2 separate regions of the Homo sapiens genome follow, and region 1 is linked to region 2. Evidence: promoter capture Hi-C in human tissues and cell types (Jung and others, 2019). All regions are on one chromosome and are shown on one strand. The core of a region is centred on a gene start or on the middle of the fragment in contact, and the rest is flanking DNA. Distances in the headings are between cores, read along the strand shown.

Region 1 (3,239 bases), core at 728-3,227, 110 kb after region 2:
CAGCACGTGGTAGGACAGCCAAGCGTTGTGTCCTGAGTCTGCGTCCACCGCCACCACCTTGGTCACCAGGTAGCCGGGCTCTGCGGCGCGTGGCACCATATCGAAGAGGGCGGAGCCATCAGGCCCCAGCGCGGGGTACAGCACCCGTGGCGCATTGTCATTGAGGTCGCCCACCAACACGCGCAGGCTCACGTTGGCGCTGAGCGCGGGGGAGCCCTGGTCCCTGGCCTGCAGTGTGAGCTCGAAGGCGCGCAGCTGCTCGTGGTCGAAGGCGCGCTGCGCGAACACCACCCCGCTCTGCGGGCTCACGGACACGTAGGACAACAGCTCCCGCGGCTCCAGGTCACTGGCCAGAATAGAGTAGGAGACTCTGCCGTTGGGTCCCAAATCCGGGTCGGAGGCGCTTACTTGTGCAATGGAGGCGCCAGGTGGGTTGTTCTCAGACACGTGGACCACATAGGAGGCCTGATGGAAAACAGGTGCATTGTCGTTGATGTCGGAGATGTGCAGGGTGATGCTTGTCCTGGAGGAAAGGGCTGGTTTGCCCTTGTCGGTGGCTATGATTGTGACGTTGTAGTCTGCTGTCTGCTCCCGGTTTAGGGCTCCAGCAATCACCAGCTTGTAATAATTCTTCGAGGTGGATTCTAATTTGAAAGGAACTTCTTCCTGAGTATAGCATGTCACCATGCCATTTTGCCCAGAATCCTTGTCTCGCACTTTTATGAGGGCTATTACAGTTCCAAGGTCTGAATCCTCTGGAATCTGGTTAGAGAAGGACATGAATGTCACCTCTGGGGCATTGTCATTCTCGTCAACAATTTCTATTTGAACATTACAGTGAGCTGTGTGTACTCCTCCATCCTTAGCTTCCACACTCAACACATATCTACTTGTCTCTTCAAAATCCAATGTGCCATTGGTTGTGATGTCGCCAGTATTTGGATTGAGATTGAAGAGGCTGGTACTTATTGGGGAATTGAGGAAGGCATAGGTGATCTCTGCATTAATGCCCTCATCCTGGTCTGTGGCCATCACCCGCAGCACGGAGGTTCCCCACGGTACGTTTTCTTGGAGGCTAACCCTGTATACCTCCTGGCTAAACACGGGAGCATTATCATTGGCATCCGTAACTCGGATCCAGATATGGGTGGTGCCGCTTAGAGGCGGGTCCCCGCCATCCATGGCAGTCAGGATTAAGCGATGAGAGCTCTGATGTTCCCTGTCTAGAGGTTTTTCCAGCAGTAATACCGGATATTTACTTCCATCAGGACTTTCCTTCGTTGACAGAGAGAAGTATTGATTGGGGTTGATGGTGTATAACTTCAGTGAATTGCCTTCCACATCTGCATCTTGAGCAGAATCCAGAGAGAATTTTACCCCGGGTAAGGCTGACTCACAAATTTCTAAGTCAATGCCTTTTGCAACGAAACGTGGTGCATTGTCATTAATATCTTGGATTACAACAACCACGTGGAAAACATTCATTGGGTTTTCAGCGACCGTTTCGAATTCTAGTGCACACTCAAGTTTCCTTCCGCAAATCTTCTCTCGATCTATCCTACCGTTCACTAACAAATCCCCGCTCTCCAAACTAACGTTGAAATAATCCTCTGCACTAACCCGCAGTTTTCGAGTTGGCAACTCCCGGACACTGAGCCCCAGATCCTTGGCAAGTTTCCCCACCCGTGAGCCGTTGGCTAGCTCCTCTGGAATCGTGTATCGGATCTGCTGGGAGATGGCCCCGCAGAACAAAGACAGCAGGAAGGGAAACAGTACCTGACTTTTCATCATTTCGGCTTCTCTGGCTCTCTGCATTTCAGGAACTCTCCGCGGAGCTTCTTTCCTCTGGGATGTTTTTCAAAAAGAAATGGCAGCACCCTGGACTTCTGTGATTTGAGCTTAGGACTTATTAGTTAGGCGCTCGAGGGTGAACAGGAGCAGCGTCTGTGCTCAGTGCACCGGACAAAGCAGGAAGGCACCCTGCCTGACGCTCCTGCAGAATTGAGAAGCCTTCACTTCCTTTTGGTCGACAGCGGCGCCCAGAGGTTGTCTTGGAAAACTGCACAGGGCCCAGCTTTTTATCCTCAAAGCGCAACCTCTTGAATCTATGTACCCTGTCTTTAATTTGCTGGAGGGAAACACATACTCACATTTTCCCCTTTACATTTCAGTTTTCTAGTTTGTCATCATCAGATAAGGGCCTTCATCATTTCGTATTCTTTTTTCATTTAAAAAATTCACAAGGTACACTGCCATTTTTTTCAGTTTTGGGGGTAAAAAAAAATCTTCAGTGATTTCACTATATTTATAAACTCTGGCATGACTGCTGTATCCAAATAAGTGAATTGATAATTTTTATTTATATTTTTAGTTGACTAAAATACCTACCTTTCTGTAAATTCATTGGAATAAGCTCCCTTATCTAGTATTTTAAATCTCTCCATATATATGTTATCAATTCAGTAATACTTTTCAAAAATAGTTTTTGCAAAAAAGAGGAAATCACAGCCTTACTATTATGTTATTTCTCTTCTTTATAAAATATAGATAATCTTTCCAGTTAAGTAGGACAAAGTCTGATATTTTGTTAAAAGGGCCAATTTAGTGTTGGGGTACACATACATGCTTTTATGAAGTGGAATCTCATATAATGTACATTTGTTTTATGAAACCAGTGCTTCTTTTTTATATGAATGTATATTAAATACTCTAGGCTGGGTGCAGTGACCTGTGATCCCAGCACTTTGGGAGGCCAAGGTGGGAAGAACACATGAGGTCAGGAGTTTGAGACTAGCCTGTCCAACATGGTGCAAGCCATCTCTACTAAAAAAAATAAAAATTATCCAGGCATGGTGGCGGGTACCTGTAACGCCAGCTACTCGGGAGGTTGAGGCAGCAGAATCACTTAACTCAGGAGGCAGAGGTTGCAGTGAGTTGAGATCATGCCACTGAAGTCCATCCTGGGTGACAGAGCAAGACTCTGTCTCAAAAACATTCTCTATAATGCCAATTCTCAGCTCCAGCCGACTTATACCATTAATGAGCAAAACGAGTTTGACTTGACCACTGGTAAATATTGGAGAGGTATTCAGAGTTCTTAGACACCCAATTTTGGAACTTATTCTGTAGTTCCAGGCTTAGAACCAGTCTTGGTTCAAAGCAAATCCCTTTATTTCAAATGCATTACCAAATGAGATCCAACTCAACAATTTATTCTACTATTTTGCAGTGCTCACCCA
Region 2 (3,251 bases), core at 180-2,679:
TAAAGAGAATGGAGCTACACAAAGAACTCCAGGAATATTAATATGGATCCCCAAGTCTTTGGCTAAATAATAATCTGAGCATACATAGAGTGCACTGACACTTTTCTGCAGCTGGGCGAAGAACTGCCAGGGAGCTATTAGCTGAATTCTTGATGGTCACATAGGGCTGGAAAATGTTTGAATTTCATTTAGCCATAATAAAGAGACCCTGCTGAACACTCAGATTAATCAAAAAAGTCAGAATTAAGTGGTAGGTCTAAATTAGCCCAAGGCAAAAGTTACTACAGACCTGTCCTAACAAAGCTTAAAAACAAGCCTTGAAAAGATCAACCTGATCTGCAAAAAACATAATAGCCTTCCAAAACAAACTGCAATAGTTCTTAAAGAAAGACAAAATCCAAACACTCAAAAATATAACATTTACAATGTCTGCTGTCCAATAAAAACATTATTAGACATGCAAATAAGCAACAAATTATGACCCCAAGCCAGGAAGAAAATCATCATAGGAATTACAGAGGTGACAAAATTAGCAGACAAGGACTTTAAAACCTCCATTATAAATGTGCTCAAAAATTTAAAGAAAAATATGAAGATAATTGAGGATGGAAATGAAAGAGTCAAATGGAACTTCTAAAAGTGAAAAATACAATATATGAAATGGAAACTTCACTGGATGGGATTAGCAAATACAGTAAACACTGAAGAAGAAAAGATCACTGAACAACACTCTTACTAACTTGATCTAGTTGACAATTATAGGATACAACAACCACGAGAAGCAGAATACACAGTTTTCAGTTACACAGTTGTGTGTAAGCAACACTCACCAAGATAGACCATATTCTGTGCCATAAAAGAAATGTTAACGAATTTAAAAGAATAGAAACTATACAATGTATATTTTTGGATCACAATACAATTAAATTAGAAATCAGTGACAAATATATTTGGGTAATACTTACATATTTGGTGACTAAACAATACACTTTAGGCTGGTCATGGTGGCTCATACCTGTAATCCCTGCACTTTGGGAGGCCGAGGCAGGCGGATCACCTGAGGTCAGGAGTTCAAGACCAGCCTGGCCAACATGATGAAACCCCATCTCTACTAAAAATACAAAAAATTGGACTGGGTGCAGTGGCTCATGCCTGTAATCCCAGCATTTTGGGAGGCCAAGGCGGGCAGATCACCTGAGGTCGGGAGTTCAAGACCCGCCTGACCAACATGAAGAAACCCCGTCTCTATTAAAAATACAAAATTAGCCTGGCGTGGTGGCATATGCCTGGAATCCCAGCTACTCAGGAGGTTGAGGCAGGAGAATTGCTGGAACCCAGGAGGCAGAGGTTGCAGTGAGCCGAGATCGTGCCATTGCACTCCAGCCTGGGCAACAAGAGCAAAACTCTGTCTCAAAAAAAAAAGAAAAAAAAATTAGCTGGGTGTGGTGGTGGGCACCTGTAATCCCAGCTACTTGGGAGGCTGAGGCAGGAGAATCGCTTGAATCTGGGAGCCGGGATTGTGCCACTGCACTCCAGCCTGGGCAAAAAAAGTGAAACTCTGTCTCAAAATAAACAAACAAAATAACAAACTTTAAAATAATCCATGGGTCAAAGAAGAAATTGCAAGGTGTATTAGAAAATACTTTGAACTAAATTATAATGGAAATATAACATCCAAAATATTATCTTTGCAAAGTACACATCTGACAAAGGACTAGTATCCAGAATCTACAAGGAACTAACAAATCACCAAGAAAAATAAAACACAATCCCATTAAAAAGTAGGCAAAGGACACAAATAGCCATTTCTCAAAAGAAGGTATACAAATGGCCCACAAACATATGAAAAAATGCTCAACATCGCTAATCATCAGGAAAATGCAAATTAAAACCACAACGAGCTACCACCTTGGTCCTGCAAGAATGGCCATTATTAAAAAGTCAAAAAACAATAGATGTTGGTGTGGATGTGGGGAAAAGAGAACACTTACACATTGCTGCTGGGAATATAAATTAGTACAACCTCTATGGAAAACAGTATGGAGATTCTCTAAAGAGCAAAAAACAGATCTACCATTCAATCCAGCAATCCCACTATTGGGTATCTACCCAAAGGAAAATAAGTAATTATATGAAAAAGACACTTGGACACATATGTTTATAGCAGCACAATTCACAATTGCAAAAATGTGAAACCAACCTAAGTCCCCATCGACTAATGAGTGGATAAAGAAAATGTGGTATATATATATACACATATATATATATACACACACACACACACACACACATATATATATACATAATACATATATATACACACACACATATATATATATACACCATGGAATATTACTCAGCCACGAAAAGGCATGAAATAATGTCCTTTGCAGCAACTTGGATCGAACTGGAGGCCATTACTTTAAGTGTGTATATATGTATACATACATATATATACTTTGTGTGTATATATGTATACATACATATGCAATATGTATATGTACACATATATATACAATGTGTATATATGCTTATAACAATAGTTTATTCTCATTCAACTGTTGGTGGATATATAGATATATAACTGTGTTTACAGTTACATATGTGTAAACACAGTTATATATCTGTATCTGTCTATCTATCCATCTAACACAGAGAGCCCAGAAAAAACCCACACCTACATATGTCCATGGCCAAATGATTTTTGATTAAGGTGCTAAGATTATTTGGTGGGGAAAAGATAGCCTTCTCAGCATATTTTTCCAAAGAGACAATTGGATATTCCTTTGGAAAAAAATATGAATCTTCATTGTTACCTCACACCATACACCATACATAAACATCAACTCAAAAGGATTCATAGACCAAATTATAAATGGTAAAACTATAAAACTTCTAAAAGAAAATATAGGAGAAAATCATCATAAGTTTTCAGTAGGCAAGGAGTTTTTGAATAGGACATAAGAAATACAAACTATAAAAGAAAAAATAAATTGGGCTTTATCAAAATTACATCTTCTGCTCTTCAAAAGACACAACTAAGAAAATGAAAAGACAAGTCATAGTCTGGGATAAAATATCCACAAAATATGTATGTGACAAAGAGCTCACATCAAGAATATATATATTACATATATAAAAATCATATATAATTACATGTATAATTATTATTTTTTAGATGAAGTCTCACTCTGTTGCCCAGGCTGGAGTGCAGTGGTGCAGTCTCGGCTCACTGCAACCTCCGCCTCCTG

The links. The method cuts DNA at HindIII sites, captures the fragments that hold promoters and counts their contacts. A contact is called where the count stands out against the background at its distance.
Region 1: the fragment with the promoter of PCDHGB1 here is called in contact with a fragment that was not itself captured in region 2 in 2 of the 25 tissues and cell types used here (H1 embryonic stem cells and heart left ventricle).

What each region holds. Positions count from the first base shown.
Region 1 is chr5:141,348,837-141,352,075 of GRCh38, reverse strand. It overlaps PCDHGB1 (protocadherin gamma subfamily B, 1), which reads right to left and starts at 1,977. Exons shown (of 4, transcript NM_018922.3): 1 at 1-1,977. The coding sequence starts at 1,815. The region is part of intron 1 of PCDHGA1 (protocadherin gamma subfamily A, 1); the gene reads right to left. The region is part of intron 1 of PCDHGA2 (protocadherin gamma subfamily A, 2); the gene reads right to left. The region is part of intron 1 of PCDHGA3 (protocadherin gamma subfamily A, 3); the gene reads right to left. It also overlaps PCDHG@. The HindIII fragment of the contact is 8,983 bases long and covers 1-3,239 here.
Region 2 is chr5:141,460,002-141,463,252 of GRCh38, reverse strand. The region is part of intron 1 of PCDHGA1 (protocadherin gamma subfamily A, 1); the gene reads right to left. All of the region lies in intron 1 of PCDHGA2 (protocadherin gamma subfamily A, 2), which reads right to left. The region is part of intron 1 of PCDHGA3 (protocadherin gamma subfamily A, 3); the gene reads right to left. The region is part of intron 1 of PCDHGB1 (protocadherin gamma subfamily B, 1); the gene reads right to left. It also overlaps PCDHGA4, PCDHGB2, PCDHGA5, PCDHGB3, PCDHGA6 and PCDHGA7, and 10 more genes. Among named protein-coding and RNA genes, the nearest start is that of PCDHGC3, 14 kb to the left of the region's middle. The HindIII fragment of the contact is 8,589 bases long and covers 1-3,251 here.